3 separate regions of the Homo sapiens genome follow, and all the other regions are linked to region 1. Evidence: promoter capture Hi-C in 16 types of primary human blood cells and fetal thymus (Javierre and others, 2016). All regions are on one chromosome and are shown on one strand. Each heading gives the region's core, a stretch centred on a gene start or on the middle of the fragment in contact. The rest is flanking DNA. Distances are from core to core; before and after follow the strand shown.

Region 1 (3,778 bases), core at 665-3,164:
ATACTTTTCATGAACATCCACTGAATTCTTTCATTCCTTCCATCAGATATTTAATCAACTCTGTGTTCCAGGTATTATGATGGAGCCTGGAGACAAACTACAAAACATGACAGATAATGCAGGAAGGAGCATGAAGTAAGTACTAAGGTGGCACCTACCTTGGGAGAAGTGGATAAAGAACTCAGGAGATGTGAAAAGGAGGAACATGAGAGGGGATCCTTTAAGGATAAGTGAAATCATCACAATTTTGTTTCCTAATGATGAAACTTATGTTGAAAATACTCCATTAAAATTCAACTACTAAAATCTTGTAACCACAAACACAAACGCAAAAACAAAAAACTATCATGATCATAATTATGATCATGTAAGCTAAAAAATTCGAGTGCAGACATAAAAGTTTTCACCTGAGATATTCACTTTATGTAAATACCACTCATCAGTTATAGCCAGAAGGTATTTGCTTCCATCCAGTTTGGGTGTAAGCGTAGAGTTAAGTCTATAATTATTTATTTGATGCCAAGTAGAAATACGACAATATACAAGGTTCAAATGTGGGAGAAGTTACAAGCAAGTCCTTGGAGAGTCAGTGAGATGTTTATGAAGAAAGAGTCATATACTGAACTTCAAAAACGAGTTGGACCTTGCACACTCAATTTTCCCTTAGCTATAACGTTTATACAAAAAGTTTTTGTGTAAACGTTATAGCTACTAAAAATCAGAACAAGTTCAATTATCACCAACTCAAAGCTGGATTAGACCTTTTCAATGATTATTAAGCTACACATCCATATTTAACAGCTAGTCTTTAGAGGAAGGGACCATCTCATTCTATTAACAGTGAGTATTGAGTAAGGCCTTCAGATGCCTAACTGCATATATTTGAATACATTTTTAAAATTTCTTAACACATATCGCTAAGGTTACTTTGTTTATATGACATTATGAGTACGGGACAACAAAACTCTTAAGCCGTTAAACAGAAAGCCAAATCAAGCTGCATCTATGACATGCCTGTTTAGTGAAACTTTACTTCAGTCCATAAAAATACAATTTATTAAAAGCACAAAACTAGTGGCTAGCTTCAAGTTAACATTTTTGTTGCTAGTGGTGAGATTTCCTCTAATGTTAAATGATTTTTTTTAAAAAAATACGTTTTAAGTCCAGACAAAATTAATTTTCAAAAATGAAAATTGTAATCTATCCACAAATGTAAGTTTTACCGTTTTGTTTTTTGCAAAAAAAAGTACCTTTTATCTTTCCTTATATTTGAGGAAACAAGCTTATCTTTGAAGAAGTAGCTGCTGAATTTGCAAGATCTTTTGAGTACTTCTAACTACACGCTTTATTACTACACAGTTAAATATTTAAACAACAGTTGTCTCCTTTGTCTAAAGACCCACAAAGACCGAGAAGGTACTTACCTTCTTGAGATGACCAAATCCAAACCTAGAACTCCTCCAGAGGTACAGCCTTGGTGGGAGATTCTGAAGACGCCAGTCTGGCTTCTATCCCTAGCCGCAGGAACCTGCATCTTTTACTTAGTCCAGAAAGGCTTAGTATATTAGTAACCCAAAGATAGTGAGGGCATTTAAACTGTGTATTTCATTCTCTACTCACGTTTGCATTTTGGTTTTTTGTTTGTTTGTTTGTTTGTTTTAAAGAGGTTGGGCCTCACTACCTGGAGACACTGTCCCACCAGTTTGGCCGCCGCGCCAAGCCGGTGGCTCAGCCCGCTGTCATCCAGGTTCTCACGACTCCTCCCATTGCTTGACAGCCAGCCAATAGCGTGCTAGGACTCTAGGACGCGCGATGGCGTAAGCTCCAACGCCCGCGTGATGACGCAAGAGGCGCCACCGTCTCCAAGGAGTGGTCCGGGGCACCGGTTTCAAAGTCGCAGGGCGGGCCGAGTGGACTTCCGCTGCTGGCCTGGGGCTTCCCAGCCGTCTTGGCGTTGTCCTCTCCAACCCCCGCCGCTCCGCGTAGAACGCCGCTCTCAGGCTGCCGTCAAGCTCCCGCGGCACTCTCCTAGGTGGCCCGACGAGACCCAGAGTGACCCGCGGGACGCCTGTATCGACCGCGTCCTCTTCCCACCAGCGTGGGATTCGGTTGAACGTGGAGTCCCCAGCAATCTTCAGTCTCTCACCAGGGCCAGGGACTCGTCTGGGGCGCGGGGGAAAGAAGCGTGGCGGGGCTGTAGATGCCGCGTGAGTAGGATGCAGATTGCACCGCTGGAGCGCTTGACAACCAACCGAGCGTTGGCTTAGTTTTGTTTTCCCGCACAGCAAGCTCTCTGTCTTTCAGAGGAAGGTAAAGGTGGTGAAAGCTCTAAACTAAAATTGTATCGAAATGGCTGCAGAAATCGACTTTCTGAGAGAGCAAAGTAAGCTCCATGTTTTTTTGAGACTTCATATACAATGTTTAATATCGTCGTCGTTGACCGACAAATCTTTTTTGAATGCTGGTTGGGTACATTTAAATTGGTAAAGAGTTAAAGAAGTTAGTTGCAGGAAAAAAAAAACCTTGATGTTATACGTGAGGATGTGTGTATATTTAAGCAGAACCGTGTGGTAGTACTTGTAGCTTACACAGAATTCTACTAGACGCTAAACATGTTTGTTATGCTCCTCTCGTGCTCTGAAGATTAGAAGGCTAATGGCCAGCAGGAGTTTCCAAGTGTGCATTTAAAATCTAGGGGCACAGCTCTCTGGCCATTTATTAAAAAGATGTTTATTGAACTCCTGTTTCTATTATGTACCAGACACTATGGAAGAACAGCTGCTGCAAAGATAAACAGGACAGTTTTTACCTCCAAGAATTTAATTTGGGGAGGGAAATGTATTCCAAAATATATTGAAGTGACAGCAACTGCTGGCTCTTTTGCCACAGTCTCATAGGGTTGTTGGAAAGATTAAATGAATATTAAAATATGTAAAGGATTTAGAATAGTATCTGATACATTGTGTTAAACAAATATTAACTATTACACGATTATTATTAAAATATGTTCAAGGAAGGTGCTATTGGGCTGAAACGTGCAGTACAAATATGAATTTACTATATGAAAAACTCTAGGCATCCCAAATAGAACAATATTTGTGACACTGAGGGGATTAGGAATATGCTTTGTTAAAGACTTGCAATACGGCTGGTTTGAGTGTAATATTGATGTAAATTGAATTGGAATATTTATATAGGGAAATGGCAAGTGCAGTTGAAGGCGTAGAAAGGGGCTGGATGGTGAAGGGCCCTGTCTTCTCTGTGCTAAGGAGTATGGACCATTGCATGGGTTATAGGAATTCAGTTGAGAGTGGCATGATCAAATTGTAGTTTAGAAGGCCCGGTCTGATTTTTACGGGGAATATGCATTATAGCAGAGTGCAGTTAGTTGTCTACTGTCATCATTCAGGTAAGAAGTAAACTAAGTTGGGCACAGGGAGACTGGAGATCAGGGGATTTGAGAGAAAGAGGTAGAGAGCAACTTAGTTTTTGCTTGAGCAACGGGGAAGTTAGGAAAAAGGTAGTAAGTTCCGTTTTGGTAGCATTATAGACCAGTGGTTAAGAACTCAGTCAGCCTCTGGATTTAGTCTGTCTGGGCTCACAGCCTACCTCTTTCCAGGTCTGTGACCTCGAGCAAGTTTCCTAGCTTTTCTGCACCTCAGTTTTCTCATTTATATAATGAGTATAAGAACACAAGAATCCTCTTGAAGTTGTGAGACTTAAATGAGATGATGAAAAAGCATTGAGCATAGTGTCTGGCACATATTAAGTGCATGGT
Region 2 (3,778 bases), core at 337-2,836, about 19 Mb before region 1:
CGGGAGAGTGCGCGTGACGGTGGGCCCCGCGGGAAAGTTGGGACGCTCGGCGGGGACTCCTGGCTGCGGGGACGCCGGGGGCAGCTCCAAGCTGGGGACCGAGGGGCATTAGAGTCTGGGGTCAGGACCAGCTCGCGGCGCTGCCGCTGTCGCCCCTATCTCCAGGGAGTTCCTGACTGGAGCGGCTGAGAGTTCAAGTCTCAGCCCTGGGTTAGGGGTCCGGAATCCCGGAGCTTAACTAACTGTTAAGGAGAGGAGGGGCCTTTGGGCACAGGGTGTCCCCCGGTCCCCCGCCTCGGGCTTTGGCGGGCGCGAAGCGAGGGTGAGGCGGGAGGCCGCACAGCTGCCGCCGCCGGGCTGCGGGTCGCCGAGGGCCGGGGGACCAGATTTAGGTGTATACGTCACTGATGCTGACTCCGGGCCAGCGGGGAGCCTAAAACGGGGCCTTACATGAGAAGCCTAAAAGTCCTTAGAAATCAAAGTTAGGAACCCCATCCTTTTGCTTAGTAACTGCAGCATTTGGGTGGGCGGGAGGAGAATCGAGGAGGGGGCGGTTGGAGGGAAACCGAAATTTCTTCATGCAGACAACCGATCCTTAGAAAACAGTTTGGTTCCTTCCCCCCTCCTGTCTGTTTCTCCCACTTATGTGACCCACCCCCTCCACCCATTATAACGTGAATATCCTCGATGGTAAGCTTGCTTTCAAATTGAACTAGTGGAAAAATCCAATACTAAAGTAGTAAGTACAGTGACAAAATTATAAGGAAGTAGAGGAGCAGCTCTTGACCCTGCCACTTCTTTCATTTATCTTTCTCTCTCTCTCTTTTTTTTTTTTTTTTTTTTTTTTTTTTTTTTGGTGTTAGGGGTCTAAGGGATGGGAGGAAAGCTGTGTTTAAAGGGTTTTTCCAGCACGGTTAAAACAACTAAATTCAAATCGAGTGAACGTGATCGTCTTGCTCGCTGGCAGCGAAGGCTGCTGCTGCTCTGCTGAGAGGTAACTCTGGAGACAGTGGAAAGGGGCTGGGAGAGGAACCTCGAGGGTCGGGTGAAGCCCACCCAGAGTCCTCCCCGCGCGCGGACGCTGTTGGGCGGCGCCAGGGTCTGGGCTGCAGCTCACCTGGAGCTGCAGGTGGAGAGCGTGAGGGGACGACACTTTGCTCGCGGAAAAACCGACTTCTTCCGCGTCAGCACACTTTTCACATCTCTCCAGATATCCTGGGGTCGGTCAGAAGGAGAGCAGGGTGGACGTAAGCAAGTTTGGGGCGGCCGAGCGATGGGGGTGGGGGCAGCGTGCGGAGGCCGCCTGATGTAGCCACCGCCCGGCACCCCAAGCTCCCGCCGCGGCTGCGGCTTTAAGGAAGCTGCCGAGTCCAGGCTGTGTCGCAGCAACTTTGTATCAGTCATGTCGCCCGCCTGGTGACTGACAGCCTGGATTGTCCAATAAGAAGCCCGCCTGACCCGTGCGGCGTGGAGCCTTGCTTCTCTTCGGGCCAATAGGAAGGGTTCAGGGGGGCGGGATAGCAACCTGAACTTTATCTGGACATGTGACCCGCTTTTAAAAGGGCCAGCCCTCCAGCTGGCCCACTCCCCCTCCGGGCTTTCGCCCGCCCTCTCTCCCTCCCTTTTTTGCCCGCCCTGGCCCTGCCCCTGCCCCTGCCCCCTCCTCTCAGCCCCTCCGCGCCCGGGGTGTCATTGGGCCCGGGAGACGGGAGCCAACTTCAGGCTGCTCAGAGGAAGCCCGTGCAGTCAGTCACCTGGGTGCAAGAGCGTTGCTGCCTCGGGCTCTCCCGCTGCAGGGAGAGCGGCACTCGCTGGCCTGGATGTGGTTGGATTTAGGGGGGCTCCGCAGCAGGGGTTTCGTGGCGGTGGCAAGCGCTGCAACAGGTAGACGGCGAGAGACGGACCCCGGCCGAGGCAGGTGTGTAGGGGCGCGCGGCGGGGCACCGCTTGCCGTGCTCGGCGTGCGGCCGCGGCGCGGGAGCGTGCACTTTGCAGGGAGAAGTGGCTGCGTAATCCGGAGGCACAGTCAGTATGGTGCTGTGTGCTTGTTGTTTTGTTTTGGTTTTCCACTTTTCTCCCCCTTTGGCCGCCAGAGGACTATTTTGGGAAAGTTTGGCCACTTTGGATAAATGCCCTCTAACTAGCAGCTTTTAACTGCCTTTGGCAGTGGGAGGTCTACCACCCTTCCCTTTACCCAAAGATGAATTTCGGATCATTTTCCCTGTACAATTTTTAAAGGACGTTTGAATAATATTTCTTTCCTTTATCAATTGCGGACGCTCCCAAATCTCAGCCGGAGGTGTAGCGCATAAGGGCAGTTGAAGGAGATATAGATCCTAATAGATCCTGTATAAAAGGGGCTCTGGAAATTCGTGCATTTCCCGTTCGCTAGCATTCGCGAAACTCTTGAGACAGGCTACGCTTCCTATGGCATCAGTTGGAATTTTAAGGGCAAGGGAGAAGGGGACGAAGCTTCTTTTGGTGGCATCCTTACTCTGCTACTGAATTTTAGGTGCGTGGCTTTGCCTACTCAATTTAAAAAGACCAGGTTTAAATAATAATGGTTTATGGCACCATCAGTTTTAATTATTTATTATGACATAGGAGTTAGGAAAACTTTTGATAGCAGACGAGCTTTTGAAACCGCCGAATTTTAAAGGCACCAAATTGCTTCCTAACATTTTGTATTGCCATTTCTCTAGGTGCTGTTATTGATGATATTTACATAGTAATGATAACAGCATTCTCCATCTGTGAAGTCCTGCTGTGAAGTTTAAATTTTATGTTTGACATCGTGGCAGCTATCATGGAAAAGCTTGAGAGGAGAAGTTTTAAAAAATAATTTAAAGTGGAGCTTTTTCCTTTAAGGGAGGCATAGTTTTGTTTGGCGATTTTTGGAAAGATCAGGTGGCTCGGTAAATTAGGTGAGTGAATAGAAATCAGGTGTGCTCAGTTCTAACTGGTTCTCCCGCTCTCTCAGGTGACCTTGGGCAGATTTCTATCATTTACCTCATCTATAAAAGAGAGGAACATAATAGTTATGTAGTGGGGAATGACAAAAAATAGTTACATATAGTGAACTTTTACAACTATGCAGTCTATAGATGATTGTGAGATTCTTAAGCTTTAGTCTTTAAAGTGCCATCTTATAGTCAAATAAATATAAAAAAGATGCCTTTTCTATCATTTCCATCATGATGAGATTGGGTTTTGGGGGTTACTAAAAGTGAAAGTGTTTCCAGATAAAATACAAATTCGCAAGGATCTTTGTTAATATTCCCGAAAAAAGTACTTCTTTATGGAAAAGGGCAATTTAACACAGACTGTAAAACGTAAAACTTTAAGGTTTTCCTTTGTGAAAACAGCATTTCTTTTGTGTTTGAGAGCATATGTATGGCTTAAAGTAGCACCTCCACCAGTGCTTTTCCTTTAGTGAATTTTTTTTTGTGTTTTGGGGCGAGGCCCATTTGCATGAAAATTAAAAGTTCATAATGTTTTTTGCATTTGTCCTAAGAGAATCTTTGGTATGGTTTCCATTGTGAGGCAGGCAAGCCTGATTTTTGTTAGTTAGATTTGTATACCTCTATCTGCTTCATTTTATACTTTAGTAACATAAACTTTTTCTTTATCCTCTAGATATTAAGTTCTATGAGGATCATATTCATCGACTAGTATTTTCAGTATTCACTAGTTAGTACAGGTTGACTGAAATTCTGCTCAAGCCATGGTCATTGTGCCAGTTGCAAAAAGATAACCTCTGCTTCCTGGATGACATAGT
Region 3 (3,778 bases), core at 786-3,285, about 16 Mb before region 1:
TCAACAAGCAAAGATCCTTTGAAAGTTAAGTGAGTTTCTCTAAGTTTTGGTGCAGTTTAAAGACATAGGATCCTCTAATATTGCCTTAACGCTGAGCTATATTTGGGAAGTTGGCATACAGAGGGTCTGTCTTGGATTAAGTCTCAAAATACCTAAAGGATTTCCTTAAACAGGCCCAGGGTCAGATATAACAGGTGCATCACTTCTAATTTTGGAACCAGAAGCAGCCAGCTTAGAGTGAGGTTGTTCTACATTCATTCAGCAGGAGTTTAGATATTACTTTGAGTTTCTCTTTGAGTTTAAAAGGCAAGCTTTTAAACTCAAAAACAAGGGCGATCCATGTTTTAAGTAGTGGCAATACTCAGGAATTTTTTTTTTTTTGAGAAGAATGAGAAGTATATGCAATGTAAGTGTATTTTAAAAAGAAAAGCAACAGGTTTGACTTGAAGCTATATTTTTCTTTTCCGTTTTTTTTTTTTTTTTTTTGAGACGGAGTTTCGCTCTTGTTGCCCAGGCTGGAATGCAATGTTGGGATCTCGGCTCACCGCAACCTCTGCCTCCTGGGTTCAAGCTATTCTCCTGCCTCAGCCTCCCGAGTAGCTGGGAGTAGCCTCCCGAGTAGCATGTGCCACCACGCCCGACTAATTTTGTATTTTTAGTAGAGACGGGGTTTCTCCATGTTGGTCAGGCTGGTCTCGAACTCCTGACCTCAGGTGACCGGGCTGCCTCGGCCTCCCAAAGTGCTGGGATTACAGGCGTGAGCCACCACGCCCAGCTGAAACTATACTTTTCTAAACCTGATTTCAAAGTGTTTCTTCGCTACAACAAGTAAATTTGAGGCAGGGACATTTTTTCATTTAGGTAACGATAACGTTTGTATTCTCTAAAAGCAGCATAATTTGAGATACAATATTTAAACATTAAGAAATCAAAGACGCTCCAAGGAAAGTGAATACATGACTGATTGCTTGCACTGAAAATACTGAAAAGTGTCTAACGTAGTTTTTAAAAAATTTTTGTCGTTGGACTCTCACCACCTGGCCTGCCTTGCCCCCCATTCCAAGGTATTTGACTACATGTCTAAACCTATAGTAATGCTCCCTTTTCTTCTCCCTCTCCTCCACCATAGCCTAAAAGACTGAATTAGTTCCTATGATTAACCATGTATTTAAATAAGGACACCAGATGTTGTATCTTAGCAAAATAAAATTTTGGTGCAACAGAAGCATGCTGGATAAATTCTGGGTTCTAAAGCATAATTTAACTTTGTCAATTCCCTGCCATTCAACGTCGGAGGGTGGGAAGTTGAGCTGAAGCCTCGAGCACTGGTGGAAGCCATGGCCAGTCCAGTCAGCATGTTATCAAGCAATTTACAAGATGAATTTTTTAAGGGGGAAAAAAAAACCCTAACGTCTTCCGACAGTGACATGTCTCTGTGATGGGGTGCTCAGCTACAGTGACAGGGTGAACAAAAATGTCTTTGGCAAAGCCTTCATCTTGCCGTAGTACGTGAGCTGTACTACTAATAGCAATCAGCAGTCCACGGTTGATTTATGGACAGAGTGTGTCGTCCCGCACCGTGCCAGTTCCCGGAGCCTCAGCCAATTAGCTCTATTTTCTGCTTAAGCCGTTAAAGCCACCTCCATGGAAACACCAGGAGAGCAGGCCGGGGGGAAGGGAGCAGACAGGTGCGCCCTCTGGAAAGAAATACACAAAGGGCCGACACTGCGCCGCCGTGTCCCTGGCAACTCCACGCCAGCCCGGCGCGCGCGATTCCCGCGGCGCAGCGGCAGGGTTGGCGGGTGGCGCGCGCAGGTCGCCCCACATCGGCCGGCGGAGCCCCTCGGCCTGCTCGCGGACGCGGCGCCAGTGCAGCGCGAAGCCGGCTTGGGGCGGTGGCGGTGGCGGCGGCGCGCCCGCGCTGTAGGGACTTGTAGTCCGCGCGCCTCCCGGGCACCTCCCCCGGGTAGGCCGGCCAGCGCGTCCCCGCCCGCCGCAAGCCGACTTCCTGCGGCTGCCAAGACTACATCTCCCGCCGTCCTCTCCGCTGTCGGGCCGAAAGCGAAAACAAATTCTGGGCTGCGAGGTGCTGTTCTCTCCCGGGCGCCCCCACCCGCTCCCTGCCCCTCCGGCGCCCTCCAGCGAGGTGGGGAAACGAAAGGCCGCGTCTTTCTTTTTGGTTTCCTCGGCTCCCGGCGTGGGGAGTGCGCGGGGGCGCAGGCCCCGCTTCACCTGAGCCGGCCCAGCGTGCGCGCCAGGGGCGGGGGTTTTCTCGCTTCACACCGGTACGGAGGAGGAAACTTGTGGGGGCGGCGACCCCCGGCCTGGGTCCTGAGTCAGGCAGCGAGGCCGTCGGGAAGTGACTACTCACTCTCGGGGTTTTCCTTAATCCCGCTCCCCCCGTTTGTCGTGGGCGCGTGTTCGCTCCGAGGAGGCGGCCGCGTGCGGACAGCCATGCATTAGGCAGGGCTTCCCTATGCGCCCGGAGAGCGCGGACCGCTGCCTCGGGCCGCCGCCGCCTGCCGCCGCTCGCGGAGCCCGAGCCCCAGCCCGAGCCGCCGCCTGCCCCAGGCCGGGGCGTCGAGCAGCCGGCGGCCTGGCCATGTGGGGCTAGCCCTCGCCGCGCCTGGCCTGCAGCAGGACCAGCAACATGGAGGCTGCCGTCGGCGTCCCCGACGGCGGGGACCAGGGCGGCGCGGGGCCCCGCGAGGACGCGACGCCCATGGACGCCTATCTGCGGAAACTGGGCTTGTATCGGAAACTGGTCGCCAAGGACGGGTCGTGCCTGTTCCGGGCCGTGGCGGAGCAGGTAATTGCGGGGGGGCGGGGAGGGCTTCGAGGGGAGGCGGGGACGGCCCGGCGGGTCTGGGTGGGGAGGCAGCTGCGGGCTGTCCGGGCCGCCCACGGCCGGGGCTGCGCGTGCCCTGGCTGTCGTCACAGCGCCCCATTGTAACGCCGGAGTGGGACGCTGCTTTGCGTCTGAAAGGTGCAAATTGAAACTCGAAAGCCCGCAAATTAACGGGGTGTCTCTCTCCTGATGAAGAGGTAATGAGTTGAGGACAACTTGTGAGGCCTGCTCGGAGCTTGTACAGTTGATTTATTGCTGGGGACCTGGCGACATGATATTTTTTACTTTTGTTCCGCATTCACCTTCCTTCCCTTCGTTTGAGAAGCACCACGCTCACCCCACTCCAGTAAACCAAGTGTTTACTAGAAGTGGTGGATCAAACTTTACTTGTGGAACATATTTTGGTTTGCTGCTGGACTTTGGAATGTAGGGTAGGCAAGCTCGCCCATGTCACTTGAATCAAATGGGCAAACTGCCGTTTGAGAAAACCAGCCTTTTACAAATATAGAATATTTTGAAGGATTTGTCTTGAGTAGGTTCCACCCTTTATTATGCTCTGCTGGGCTGTGTAGGTATACTAAACAGAACTGACTTTTTTAAAAAAGCCTGTTTTGATGTTGGTAGTAGAAAGGGTACGTGTAACTGGAGCTTTTCAAAACCATTTTCTAACACAGTTGCTCAGGAAGATTTTTCTGAATTTTTTTTTTTGAGCGAGCTTATTCCATGTTATATAACACTGTGTGTTGTAGGTGTGCAGTCACCAAAACCCATCCTATATTGAAAAATAGCTGCCGAAGTAGCTGGATAAAAGTTTCTGCTCTGGTGTGTCTTTCAGACGATTCACATGTGCTTTCCTTTGACCTAGGACCTGCTCCCCACACCCCATTGCACACCCCTCCCTACCCGCCTGTGGGGTTTTTATGATGTTTC

The links. Contacts are between HindIII fragments. The CHiCAGO score rates a contact against its expected background, and 5 or more counts as called.
Region 2: a fragment that was not itself captured here is called in contact with the fragment with the promoter of SCLT1 in region 1 in 1 of 17 cell types (activated CD4 T cells); the score reaches 7.2 in activated CD4 T cells.
Region 3: a contact is called between the fragment with the promoter of OTUD4 here and the fragment with the promoter of SCLT1 in region 1, in 2 of 17 cell types (non-activated CD4 T cells and total B cells). The highest score is 6.0, in non-activated CD4 T cells.

What each region holds. Positions count from the first base shown.
Region 1 is chr4:129,091,675-129,095,452 of GRCh38, reverse strand. It overlaps SCLT1 (sodium channel and clathrin linker 1), which reads left to right and starts at 1,914. Exons shown (of 21, transcript NM_144643.4): 1 at 1,914-2,383. The coding sequence starts at 2,350. It also overlaps a transcript of C4orf33 not described here. RefSeq lists an enhancer at 1,650-2,219. The HindIII fragment of the contact is 3,346 bases long and covers 1,285-3,778 here.
Region 2 is chr4:148,440,300-148,444,077 of GRCh38, reverse strand. It overlaps NR3C2 (nuclear receptor subfamily 3 group C member 2), which reads left to right and starts at 1,664. Exons shown (of 9, transcript NM_000901.5): 1 at 1,664-1,918. RefSeq lists a silencer at 1,467-1,756. The HindIII fragment of the contact is 1,777 bases long and covers 698-2,474 here.
Region 3 is chr4:145,178,846-145,182,623 of GRCh38, reverse strand. OTUD4 (OTU deubiquitinase 4) reads left to right here and starts at 2,035. Exons shown (of 21, transcript NM_001366057.1): 1 at 2,035-2,809. The coding sequence starts at 2,651. It overlaps LOC124900794 (a long non-coding RNA gene), which reads right to left and starts at 431. Exons shown (of 2, transcript XR_007058294.1): 1 at 1-431. RefSeq lists silencers at 1,629-2,028, 2,119-2,348, 2,469-2,928 and enhancers at 1,274-2,103, 2,104-2,933. The HindIII fragment of the contact is 3,984 bases long and covers 314-3,778 here.